Regions from separate parts of the Homo sapiens genome. Here region 2 is linked to region 1. The links are contacts of gene promoters, found by promoter capture Hi-C in human tissues and cell types (Jung and others, 2019). All regions are on one chromosome and are shown on one strand. Each heading gives the region's core, a stretch centred on a gene start or on the middle of the fragment in contact. The rest is flanking DNA. Distances are from core to core; before and after follow the strand shown.

Region 1 (6,941 bases), core at 1,189-3,688:
TCCAAACCTGAAGTCTTTAGCGCATGCGTTGCATAATCGATTCTTTGTTCTCTCTAGGAAGAGTTCTATGGCTACCTAGAAGTTCAGACTCAATAAGTTGTTTGTATCATGGAATGTTTGAATAAGCCTATGTATATTTAACATATTACATAACTAACACATATATACATGAATAACATTTCAATACACTTTTCAATCACAGAACAAAGCAGGTTTTAATAAAGTATAATTTATAGATTCTCTATAAATTATCCTTTATCACTTGAAGAAGACCAGCTAAGAAAGTCAAGGTATATGTTTCAGCTTGCCTTTAAGAAATTAAAGACATTTGAACCTATGAGGGCAATGTATTTGAATGGCTGCTTGTTTAGACTATAGAAATGAATGACTATATTCAATGTATTTGCATGACTGCTTGTTTAGACTATAGAATGAAGAAACGGAAGATCCAGGATGCTTAAACTTTAAAAAGTTGAAGCTTCCTGGATCTTCCGTTTCTTCATTTCTCCTGATATGTTTGTTTCACCTGGACATCTTCTCATTTTTTTGGACTCAGCTCTAATGGTATTTCCTTCTAGAAGCCTTCTTGGTCATTTGCGATTGAGAAGCAATCACTGAGGAGTGTTAAACATTCAATATCCTTTCTGTTCTTAATTATCCTTTGAAAACCTTTCCCCAGACCTTCCTAACCATTGAATACTCATTTGGTTAGTATTCAATGACTGAGTATTTGGTCATTGAATGACCAAATGGGTCAATGGCTTTAGAATATTTATGAATGGACCTTAGAATATTTCTTTAATATTCTTTATCAATGGGCCTTAGAATATTTCTTATGAAAATAAGCCAATAAAATTATGTTAAGTATTGATACTTACCCAGCACTCGGAGAATACTGAAGTGCTCTCTTCATCATCTCTTCTCCAAATTGGATGGTCTTTCCATTTTCTACAGTGATTACGGCAGTCTTAAAAGGAAACATGTTTGGATTTGGTAAGCCACCAGCCAAGGAGATCATCGATTTTGGTCCTCTGCTCAATATGTCAGCTACAATACACATGGAAGAGAAGAAACAATTTCATTGAAGATTGTTATAAGCGGATAGTTAAGCATGCATTATAGTCAATAAAACTATAAAGTTTAACGATTTCTAGTGATAGAGTGTGCTATGGTCTAAATGTTGGTGCTCCCCCAGATTCATACTTGGAAGTTAATACTAATGTGATAGTTTTAACAGGTGGGGTCTCTAGAGGTGATTAGGTCAGGAGGGATCCACCCTCCTGAATGGGATTGGTGCACTTATAAAAGAGGGCTGAGGGAATGCCCTTGGCCCTTCTGCCACGTGAGGACATAGGTTCTCCCTTCTACCACGTGAGGATGCAGCAAGATGGCTCTGTCTATAAGGAAGGGCTCTCACCATGGTGACACAGAAGCTGCTGGCACTTTGATCTTAGACTTCCTAGCTTCCAGAACTGTGAGAAATAATTCTATTGTTCATAAATTACCCAGTTTGTGGTATTTTGTTATAGCAGCCTGAATGGACTAAGACAAAAGCTAGTCTAAAATAAACATACAGAATAACTTTTTCTAGGCACCTCACTTGTGGAGGGACTAAAGAATGAAGGTGACCAAAGAGAAGGCAGAGGGATCAGAAAGACAGCAAAGGGCCACAATAGCAGAAGCCCTCCTCCACTTAGCCCCGACCTGTCTGTGAGCTTCATGGCCCACCCCTCTCCCATTTACCTGGCCCTCTCCACTGTACACCCATCTGCACGCTGTGCATGCCCCTTCTCAGCTTCCCAGGAAGAGCCTTTCTTGATAGCACGCCCCCTCCCTTCCAAGGCCGTGCCCCACAGCAGTCTGCGCCTCTCTCTACTGTTGCTCCTACTCTGCTCCAGCAGAAATACCCGCCTTCCGTTTCAGCCCGAGTTCTTTGAGAACAAAGGCTGTGTCTATTTCATTTCTGCACGCAGAGCCTGGCTCACCGCGAGCGTGCACAGGGGTACGCATGGATGCAACCAAGCGGTGGCTTGCTAGGGAACCCTCCTTAGAGGCTGTGCGAGGAATGCCCCACCCCAAAGGAGAGATGGTCACCCCGTTTCTCACTCATGGTCCGGATGGGAGAAGGGTTTCTGGCTGCGCTCGCTGCCGTGATGAACCGTGCGTAATTCATGTCTTCTGACAGCCAAGCATCAAGCTTCTTCTTCAGTGGTTGAGGACTAGAAAAACCAAAGAGCCTCGTCAAGTCCTGCCTGCTAACTCCTCACTCTGGCAACGCCACCGCGAGATGTGTCCCCCCGCTGCGTCTGGCTTCCCGCGCGCGGTGCCCGGAGAACGCCGCCGAAACTCCCCGGCTGGACGCTGCGTTCGGTCTCCCGGTCCTAAACGGGTCTGGGGCTGTGTGGCGAGCCCGGCAAAGTCCACGCCGCACGCGCTCCTGCGGCCGCCAGGGCCCAGGCCGGTTTTGCCCCGCCGCGGGCCTCGCCGCGCCCCCTCCCGCCCCGCGCCGTGGCCTATGGCCGCCCGCGGCGCGCGCCTCCCCGTCCCGGATCATCGCCCTCAGAGCGCAGGGCGCGGGGTAGCCCAGGCGCGAGGCGCTTGCAGCCCCAGGCCAATGACTCTTGACCTCGCCGCTGGGAATCACCGCAACCCGGCGTCCGCGTTGGCCGGCCTAGGCGCCGGCCCAGAGGCTAGCCCAGGGGCTGACCGAGGGGACCGGAAGTGCCCGTGATCCTAATCCTCGGGAACCATCTGGCGGCGACTTGGGTCCACTGCAGGGGGCTCCCGAGCTGCGCCCAGCCGGGAGCGGCCCCACCCTCGTTCCCGCGCGCTCCGCTGGCCTCCTCTCAGTCACTGGGACTGTGCATTTTGCCCGCTCAGACCATGGCTATGCTAAATACCCATCTTTCGTTAGTGAAACTCTGGGCACTCTCCTGGGAAGCATCCCGGCGACCAAGACGAATTTCAACATCACTTTCTCGAAGATCTCAGCATTTTGGAGTGACGATGGAGTTCTGACAAAAATTTTTGAAAAATCACTCTGAGTCTCTTCAATTTTAGTGTCTACCCTCACATTGAATTTCTGACCTTTCGTTAAATAAGAATTATGTTGGAAGTGAATATCCGGATCTTTTTGGGTCTAGCACCTTGCCTTTTTTTTTCTTACAAAATAACCCTTCTTACTCCCCACCTCCCTCAACTTTTCTGCAATTTCTCCTTCCTGAATCACCAAAATGGAATGTACAAGGTTTAATGTGAGCACTTAATGAGGGAAGGGTTTCAGACAACCTCTCTTTGACTTTAAAAAATTCTTTAATGGTTATTAAAATGAATGAACAGATTCATTCATTCAGCACAAATTTACTGAGTACTTCCTAGATGATTATTGACTCACTGCCAAATGGCTCTCTTTTAAGTTTACCTAATAGGTTGGTCAAGGAGCCACTGCTTTTATCTAGGTCCTGGCAGCAAAAGGCTGAGATAACCCAGTAAAATCTTTGTGCTAGCAGCTAAATAACAAAAAGGAAGTATTGAGAGGTGACAGCCTGCTGGCAGCCCTCGCAGCCCTCGCTCACTCTTGGCGCCTCCTCGGCCTCAGCGCTCACTCTGACCGCGCTTGAGGGGCCCTTCAGCCCGCCGCTGCACTGTGGGAGCCCCTTCCTGGGATAGCGGAGGCCGGAGCCGGCTCCCTCAGCCTGCGGGGAGGTGTGTAGGGAGAGGCACGGGCGGGAACCAGGGCTGTGCGGGCGCTTGCGAGCCAGCTAGAGTTCCGGGTGGGCGTGGGCTTGGCGGGCCGGCACTCAGAGCGGCGGGCCGGCTCCGCCAGACCCGGGTAGTGAGGGGCTTAGCACCCGGGCCAGCAGCTGCGGAGGGTGTGCCCAGTCTCCCAGCAATGCCGGCTCACCGGCGCTACCTTCGAATTCTCGCCAGGCCTCAGCTGCCTCCCAGCGGGGTGGGACTCGGACCCGCAGCCAGCCATGCCTGAGCCTCCCCACCACCCACCCGTGGGCTCCTGCGCTGCCCGAGCCTCCCTGACGAGTGCCGCCCCCTGCTCCACAGCACCCGGTCCCATTTACCGCCCAAGGGCTGAGGAGTGCGGGCTCACAGCCCGGGACTGGCAGGCAGCTCCACCTGTGGCCCCAGTGCCGGCTCCACTGGGGGAAGCCAGCTGGGCTCCTGAGTCTAGAGGAGACTTGGAGAACCTTTATGTCTAGCTAAGGGATTGTGAACACACCAATCAGCACCCTGTGTCTAGCTCAGGGTTTGTGGATGCACCAATGGGCACTCTGTATCTAGCTAATCTGATGGGGACTTGGAGAATCTTTATGTCTAGCTAAGGGATTGTGAATACACCAATCAGCACTCTGTATCTAACTCATGGTTTGTAAATGCACCAATCAACACTCTGTATCTAGCTCAGGGTTTGTAAATACACCAATTAGCACTCTGTATCTAACTAATCTAGTGGGGACTTGGAGAACTTTTGTGTGTAGCTCAGGGATTGTAAACGCACCAATCAGCACCCTGTCAAAATGGACCAATCAGCTCTGAAAAACAGGCCAATTGGCTCTCTGTAAAATGGACCAATCAGCAGGATGTGGATGGGGCCAGATAAGAGAATAAAAGCAGGCTGCCTCAGCCACCAGCGGTAACCCGCTTGGATACTTTTGCAGCGTGTGGTGGTTTTGTTTTCTCGCAGTTTGCAATAAATCTTGCTGCTGCTGACTCTTTGGGTCCACATTGCTTTTATGAGTTGTAACACTCACCGCGAAGGTGTGCAGTTTCTCTCCTGAGGCCGTGGAGACCACGCACCCACAGGGAGGAGTAAACAAATCCAGCCGAGCTGTCTTAAGAGCTGTAACACTCACCGCCAAAGTCTGCAGCTTCACGCCAGCAGCCAGTGAGACCACGAACCCACCAGAAGGAAGAAACTCCCAACACATCCGAACCTCAGAAGGAACAAACTCTGGACACACTGACTTTAAGAACTGTTAACACACCGCGAGTGTCTGCGGCTTCGTTCTTGATGTCAGTGAGACCAAAACCCCACCAATTCCAGGCACAGTATCTAGTAAACCTGTTAGAAACCCACGAGGCAAAATGCTTCTGCGTTCAGAGACTTCAAGTAGTTGAAATCCCATTTGATGGCTTAATAGCTGGGTGTCTTTGGACAAGTTAATTAACCTTTCTCTGTATTGGTTTTCTCGCAGGCATGTTGACAGGAATAAATGAGATAATCTGTGTTAAACTAATCAGTGCAGTGGTCTGCACGTTGTAAAAACGCTATGAACATTGGCTGTTGTTAGTAACATGCATTTAAGCAAACCTTAAGGCCTCAGCCTCCAAATGTTTTTGACTAAAGCTATTTGGCAACTTTTAAGGCCTGTTCTCAGTTAATCCATGCACACAGATCCTTATGTGTTTGAGCTTGTCCATTCTAAAAGTAGTTCCTGAATTTTTATAGAAGTTAACAAGCACCGGAAACATCTAAATAAGGTGTAGATCAAGGTAAATTGTAACTTGTAACTAGATATGTTGATGTTCCTGGGGACTTAAGGCTTTTTTTTGATAGGGGAGGACTCTAACTGAGCAAGGTTTCCTTAGATACTTAGAAGAAAATTTAAACTTTGGCCAGGAGGTGTGGTTCACGCCTGTAATCCCAGCACTTTGGGAGGCCAAGGTGGGTGGATCAACTGAGGTCAGGAGTTGGAGACCAGCCTGACCATCATGGCAAAACCCCATCTCTACTAAAAAATACAAAAATTAGCGGTGTTTGGTGGCAGATGCCTGTAATCTCAGCCACTCGGGAGGCTGAGGCATGAGCATTTTTCGAACCCGGGAGGCGGAGGTTGGAGTCAGCTGAAGCCGAGATCACGCCACTGCACTCCAGTGGGGGATTGAGCTGGGGGATAGAGCGAGACTCTGTCTCAATTTAAATTTCTTCCATTTGGTAGTAGGAACCTGTTCGGTCAAAGGAATTTGGAGTGCTGGGCCAAGGAAAAGACCAAAGGTTTTTGTAAGCACGTTGATGCACCCGTCTGTGATTTGTAGTATTTATTACTCACAGGCTATTTATTTTATTTTGAGAGGCAGAGTGTCTAGAGTCTCACTTTGTTATCCAGGCTTGAATGCAGTGGCGCCAACCATAGCTCACTGCAGCCTCGTCTTCCCGGGCTCAAGCATTTCTCTCACCTCAGCTTCCTGGGTAGCTGGGACTACAGGTGAACACCACTACACCAGGATAATTTTTTAAAATACCTTGTAGAGACAGGGTCTCCCTATGTTGCCCAGTCTAGTCTTGAAGTCCTGGCTTCAAGTAGTCCTCCCACTTTGGCCTCCGGAAGTGCTGAGATTACAGGCATGAGCCAGCGCACCTGGCCTCACACAGGCATTTTTAAAAATACGTAATTAATTGATTTTTTTACCCCCTTTCCAATCAGTGGTAACACAATTTAAGGAAGCCAAACTGAAGAGCTGTGAGAGCATCAAATCCTAAGGTGCAGGTTTTCAACCCTTAAACAGTTTGCTGAATTTTCTATTTGGCCTGTCCTGGAGTTGTACTGGTGAGACGGTTGGGGGTGCTGATTGATTGCAAGCTGGCTGATGATTCAGGCCAGATGGAGAGGCAGAGAAATGGCCCATCAGGGCAGGCTAATGGAATGCAGGGGCACTGGGGGGTCATGATCAGCAAATGCAAGGCAGAATATAGTCACAGTGGTGGGGAAGGGACAAGCAAGGGTTAAGTTGGGAAGAGCTTACCAGACAATAGAAGCTGAAGACTGAAGGTAAATTTGATTGCCAGAGAAACTAGACTTTGGATTTGTCAGGCACCAACAGCAGAAGGCTTCTCCTGAGGGACTAAGATAAATGAGCAAGGTTCATAGCTCAGTGTTGCCTTTTTAGAAGCTTGGCTTAGGACTGCCCAAGGACGGAATTAAAGA
Region 2 (6,941 bases), core at 2,387-4,886, 430 kb before region 1:
TGTTAATATGGTAATAAAAAGTCTCTATCAAAGTCCTCTTATGTGTCAAAGTCCTCTTTTGCCACATCTTCCAGTCTACCTTGTGCTTTTCTAAATTGTGATTGGACTTAACCTGTGTACTGATTCTTTTACTTTAAGAAAGTGGCAGTTGTGGACCCCATAAACACAAGAGATGTGTTTACTTCTGAAGTTTTAAAGATTTTTAGGTTTATTATTACAAAAGTAATATATTTGTTTAAACAGTGTGGAATTATATAAACACTGAATGTACTCCTCAACCTCTCTACCTTATGTCTCAGTGATAACAATTGCTAAGGGCTTGATGTGTTTTATTCTAAACTTAATTCTATACAAATATAATTATATAGATATATATTATATATACACACAATTGTTTATCTTTAAAAATAATTCAAATATGGCTACAAAACTTTTACAATATGAAGCATTGTCAGTATTTATTTTACCGGGAGGATTTCCCCCATCAGTGAGTGCTGACTGTCATTTTCATTCTTTATGATCAAGTTGTAGATCAGGAAAAACAAGTTAAGAGAGTGCCTACAAATACCGGGAAAACTTGTGGATAGATTTTCATTTTTTATGTAAAGACATATAAGAACATGAATGGTATAAAAACAAAATCCTTTATAAATGCCATACAATTATATATTTAGAAAAATTATATGGTGGTAAAACATATAAAAGAACCACACACTCCCAAATTTACATTGAGCTAATTTAGTACAGTTAGCCTTTGTCAAAGCTTTCCTTGTTTAAAAAAACTATTGGCTCAGTGTGCAGGAAGGAGCATAGGAGAAAAAATTGCCAAGAATATTTGAAAAATACAGAAAATAAAGAAAAAAATCACCTACTATCCTATCAAAAATTTTAATAGCTAGAATCAGGATAAGATAGAATATTCCTGTGGCAGTAATTCTAGTCTATATTCCTTTCCTGGAACCCTGTCTCCCAAATTTCAGGTGAGATTTTATAAGAAGCTCTGTTTATCTGAGATTTAAAATATAAAAACTTGATTTAACCTATACAGTTTTTTAAAAAGACCCTAAATAAGTAAAATTTAGTACTCCACAAATTGAAGAGAATTTCTCTCTTCTCTTTACTGCCCTCTGAGTTTTCTCTTTCCTTCTCTCACCTCCAATTTTCATGTAAACACTTTCAGTTCGAGTGGACCTTAGAGATTGTCTCATTCAATACTTTAGGAAAACAAATTTTATAGAACCCTTGAGTTCTGTGGAATTGCTTCTAATGAACAACACCTTTTGTTGTTGTTGTTGTTTAGTGACACTGTGTAACAGGCATTTCAGGAGGAGAATCTCCCAGTCTAGAGGAATCCTCTCAGAGGTAGCTATAAAATATTGAACTCTGATCTTCAATAAGCATTGTGCGGTTTTTGTTTTTGTTTTTAATGACAGTTTTAAACAAGAAAGTTGCTTTATTTCTGAACTTCATAAAAATTTCTATTAAAGAGACAATTTCTGAATTTTATAACAATTTCTAGAACAGTTGAGTACCTCACTTTGAGACACATTTTTGCTAAAAGTTAAAAACACAAAACCCTTATGAGATAAAATAGGAAGCTAGTAGAGATAGGAAAGCCCTCTGCTTAGTAAACCTCTTTTTTGCGTAGTTTAGACACATACAATAGTAAAGTTACTTAGTACGTTGATAGTTTTCTTTCTCCTCAAAAGCTACAATGTCTTACTAGCTAGTTCCTTCAAGAAAGGAAACAAGAAGCCGCTGGAGGAGATTGGTGAGTGGGATAAAACACTATTCAACTCTTCAGTTATTCGGTTTTTAAATCCTCAATGAAAGGCTGCTGTATTATAGAGTATTTTTTTTTTATTTTTAATAGACTTAGAACCAAGTTTCTTGAGAAACCTTTGGCATATTGTAGTTTTTTTATGGCTATGACTCACATGACATTACTGTATAAAACTAGTACATTCTCTCGTAAAACCACACAAACTTACTAGAGTGCTGCTCTCATTTTTCTACATTAGAAATGAAAAAGGGCATTGTCTGCATTCAAAATTTCCTTTTTACATCTCTGTATTACTTTTTCCCCTTTATATTTATCTTAAAACCAAAAGAAATAATGTTTCTATTGTTTTACTGTAGTTACCACTGATGCTACCGAAGCTGTATTGTGAGTGTTTCAAAATTCTCAAACCAGTTTTGTGTGTTGTACTTGGAGCTTAGTCATTGTCATACGTAGCAGGACCTGATTAAGAAGGCTGTGCCGCCTCTAAGCCTTGCTAGATTGTAGCCACTAGCAACCAGGCTGCAATAATTTCCCTTTGATGACATCATCCACTGTGGAAGAACCCAGTTGCTTCAGCGAGTCGAACTACAGTTTTAACCTCATCAAATATGGCATCTCCCTTGCTTGCTGCAGCAGGGATGGAAGAAATGTCACTTTCTTTTTAAGCTAGCAAGCTTTTTCTTTTTCTTTTTCTTCTTCTATTTAAAAATTCTAATCATGGATGCTTCTTCCGACCCTTATTTGCCTTATGACGGGGGAGGAGACAGTATTCCCCTGAGGGAATTACATAAAAGAGGTAATACTATCCCCTTGCTGTGAATTCTCTGTTGGTATGTTTTGCATGCGGCTGGGCGGTCCTCTAGCTTAAACTGGTTCTCGTTTGTCCTTTAAATACTGCAGTACGTTGTTTAGTTGCCCTGGGTTGTTAGTAAGGGGAAAATGCAACCTTCTGAATGGTTGTGTAGCCATCCCTGATTGTTTTCTCTGTGCAGATTAGTACTGCTTCAGATCACGTCGGGCTCCGACTCCATCTTCTGCATGAAAATCTTCTTTCTAACTCTGAAAATGAATTAATCTGCTTTTACAGCCAACTAAAGTCGTGTTGGTTGGCATCTAAAAAGTAATGTTTTTCTTCCTTCAGAAAACTTACATTTCCTTTAATTTACACAGAGAAATCAGGTGCCTATGTACCATTATATTTTAGCTGCTGCCAATTACCATGTAGATTTTACACCACAAAGTAAATTTATAGCAAAAGCTTTACCTACATTTTAGAACATTTTAAAATGATAGTAAAGATGAATAATTTCTATATTAATACTTTTTATTTAATATGTATTTCGGCTGAGTAACATACTACATTGTCTTCCACAGGTATCTTGTGAAATTTGATATGATAAAACACATTTGACTAAATGTCAGAAAAAATAATATTGGTTTGTGAAAAGCAGAAGAGCACCCAGCATGCCTGTAAATCTTTTGGCAGGCACTTCCTCAGTCTCCTTAAAATTAATTGCATGTTAATTACTACCCTTTTTTTCATTTTTGTTTAATTGCTTATTCGAAAAACAGACTGGTCGACATTTGTTGTCCTAGAAAAAAATTGAACTTCAAGAAAAATCTCTTAGCTTATGTGACTTCATTTTTGAGCCACATTAGTTTGAATTACTGCATGATATTATAAACTCACCTTATGATTTAACCCAAACTTTTATTTGTAAGTATATAAGGAAGTAATAATGTTTTTCTAATATAATTAGCCTGCTTTATTTAAAATATACTTTGTGTTCTGATAACACTTTTTTTTTAGTATTAAGTTCCACTATAATTTAAACATTATAATGTATTCAACAAATGTCTGTTGGTTGCATTGTGTCTGCTACACACTATTTTAGGGTCTGAACAGTTGTAGCATTATTTATCTTGCAGTATTCTGTAGTTAGTAAAAACTTGCTTTTTACATTTTGAGAAAAGCTGTGTAAGGATCATGTTACATACATTGTGCTTTCTCTTACAGAGTTACCTTCTTAATAAAATTTTGATATATGTGTATATGTATATGTTAGAACATTTGGAAGAAATATCTAAAAGCATAAAGAAGAAAATAATTTCTTGTAATCACACCACCCAGAGCTTTTTAAATTTTTTTTCTTAATGTTACGATCATAAATTCTTCTATTTCCTATGTTCTGATTATCAGTTTTCTGGTAAGGAGTTCTTTAAACAGGAAGCAAGGTGAATGAATAGTGACTGTTCAAATGTCACATTATTTGCTAATCAGTAATTAAACTGTAAAACAAGACAGACTGTATTTTCCTCATGCTATTACAACATTTGGTTGTTAATGATGATAGATCAGAATACCTGGGCTTCAGAAATTTAAATTCCTTTTGTGAAGCTTAACAGTCTTTGACAGAACTTACTTATGGACTGTCTTAGTGTAAAATATGCAAATAATAAGAAATAAGTCAAAACTTATGTGAGAGTAGGCATGGTTACTGATATTACCTAAACGTAAGCTTTTTATTTCTATTATACTTTCATAAATAATCCTTTAAGAATCTTGCTTAGGATCTAAATCAGTCCCACTCTTGGCAGCTCAAATAGGTTCTTTATCCCTTGATGAGACTTATTCTATTAATATAAGTCATTGTTATTTGAAAGTAACATTGTGTATGTGTAGTAGAGATAAGTCAGTTATTAGGCTTTCGTGACTGTACTGTATTACCTCAAACATACTGTAGTATCCTAGTGTCTATGCGTAAGATGTTATTTTTTGTCCATAATTTATGACCTGTTGTAGCCATGGGTCAACACAATGGAATTGATGGAGACAGGCAGCTAACAAATCGAAAAAACTGAATCAGCTTCCCTGTGAGGAAGAACAAAACTATAATGATTAAAATTGATCTTCAGCCTGATAGTGAAGAGGCAGATAAAGTATAAAATTGTGAAGGATATCAATAAAGTAAACATGGATCTGTTTAGTAAATCCCTGAGTGCTATAGCCAAGGATTACCTTTGTTGAGTAAATTGAATTTAATACTACTTTTCAAGGCGAGATGGTAAATGGTGAAGCTTCCTATTTAAGTAAATAATGTCAAGTCTGGAAGTATAAGTAGATTCAAATTAGAATTAGTTTGATATACTATTGATAGATTAGAAATTAAGATGACATTTCAGAAATAGCCATCTTTAGGGGTAGATTTCCTATATAGAAACAATCAAGCTCTCTCAAAATGTCTCTTCCTTTTTTATCAGGAAAAAAGACTTGGCTTATCTGGACTGTTAGTTTTACACTTTTTCTTCTTAATTTGTTCAAGATGTTTAAGTAGTTTTAGAGGTCAAATTTCTTTCTTCTACCAACCCTTTATAATGGATTTGATCTTTTGGGCCTGAGCCTCCATTTACTCCATGAGGGGCCTTTAACAATTATTTAAATATTTAATTGTTTCATTCAGAGTGAGCATATATGTGTGTGTGTGTGTGTGTGTGTGTATATATATGTGTGTGTGTGCGTATATGTGTATATATATATATACATATACACACACATATGGCACTCCTAGGTGCTGTGGAGAATTATAAAAATAGTAATATTAATAATAGTTAATATTTATTAGAATTTCCTGTTAGCTGGATACTGTCCTAAGTGGGTTTTTTTGTTGTTGTTGTTGTTGTTGTTGTTGTTGTTTTCTTAAGAGAGAGGTATCACTTTTTCACCCAGGCTGGAGTGCAGTGGAGTGATTATAGCAAATGCAGCCTTGAACTACTGGGCTTAGATCCTCCGTCTCACCCTCCTTGGTACCTGGGACTGCAGGCTTGCAACACCTTGCCTGGCTAATTTAAAAAACAAAATTTTTTTTTTTTTTAGGGAGAGTCTCACTATGTTGTCCAGGCTGGTCTCCAACTCCTGGGCTCAAGCAACCCTCCTGCCTTGGCCTCCCAAGTAGCTGAGATTACAGGTGCGAGCCACTGTGCCTGGCTTGTTCTAAGTGCTTTATGTGTATGAAATTATTTAAATCCTCATCACAAGTTTATGAAGTAGGTACTGTTATAATCCCCATTTTCTAGTTGACAAGACTGAGGTAAGGAATTGTTAAGGAAAAGTCAGAATTCCATCCAGATATTTGGCTCATACTTTAATCATGAGGCTAAACTGCTTCTCTCTACACGTATCTTCATAGTAACTTGTGTTTTAAGTCTGGTAGAAGCATAAGAAGTTTAAACACAGACAGAATCCTGTGGAAGTTAGTAAATTTCTAGTGAACGATAGAAATGATAGAAATCTCTTCTTCCCCCAAAGTCCCAAGAACAGATTAGTCTGCTTTTGACAAGTGTTATCAAAGTAGACTGTTCTCACATACACAGGGGACTCAATAGGGCATTCCTGGTGGATATAATAAAATGAGTAAATGCGATAACAGGAGGAAATGCCTAGTGTGTTGCTCTTGGATTAGTTTTGATACAACAAAGGCAGCTTTGTTGTGAGTCAGTAGAGAGGGTAGTGTAGAAAGGTGGAAGTTGGAAGAGTGGCAGATCCTAGAGGACTAATGATGGGCTTAAACCACAAAAAGTGTCGCTTTGCCATTGAAATAAAAGTTTGGGGTCTTATTTTTTCAAGTTTCTCCCTGAAATTATTTCTTGACATTCATTAGCTCAGCAGTGTATCTAAATAAAGCTTTTTTGGGTTTCTATTATAATAGAGGTTTGTTCCTTTTTCTTCCCTTTGAAAAGTATCATTTTTTGCACATTATTTGAAAATCCAGGTGTTATATGATATTCTTATTGCCAGAGGGACATTCTGCAGGCTCTTTGTAAAATGATTTTAGGATTCAGATACTTATTATATTTTTATTGGCCCTAATATTTTATCCAACTAGAAAATTAAACCTCTTCTTAAAAATTAATCCATCTAAGTGTCTGTAAATTAAAGGAACAACTAAAGATTCTTTATTTGGTGTCAGAAACTCCTTGTTTCTACAACAGTAGTATAAAACAAAGCCTGTTTTTAAATGTACTTTTCCCACAGTATCTGAATTTCAAATCTTCAATAAAATCTGGTTCATATTACTACCTCTAGCTTGATTTTCTAAAAATAGCTGACACTTTAGTATGGTTAATTTTATGCCATCTCATGGCTTGTCAGAAATGCTTT

The links. Contacts are between HindIII fragments. The study calls those that stand out against the background at their distance.
Region 2: a contact is called between a fragment that was not itself captured here and the fragment with the promoter of AADAT in region 1, in 2 of the 25 tissues and cell types used here (dorsolateral prefrontal cortex and hippocampus).

Annotation. Positions count from the first base shown.
Region 1 is chr4:170,087,518-170,094,458 of GRCh38, forward strand. It overlaps AADAT (aminoadipate aminotransferase), which reads right to left and starts at 2,439. Exons shown (of 13, transcript NM_016228.4): 1 at 2,107-2,439; 2 at 879-1,047. The coding sequence starts at 2,173. RefSeq lists a silencer at 1,661-1,955 and an enhancer at 3,855-4,549. The HindIII fragment of the contact is 6,677 bases long and covers 1,338-6,941 here.
Region 2 is chr4:169,657,870-169,664,810 of GRCh38, forward strand. All of the region lies in intron 2 of CLCN3 (chloride voltage-gated channel 3), which reads left to right. Among named protein-coding and RNA genes, the nearest start is that of CLCN3, 41 kb to the left of the region's middle. RefSeq lists enhancers at 2,309-3,181, 2,364-2,463 and silencers at 2,764-2,823, 6,069-6,363. The HindIII fragment of the contact is 4,052 bases long and covers 1,611-5,662 here.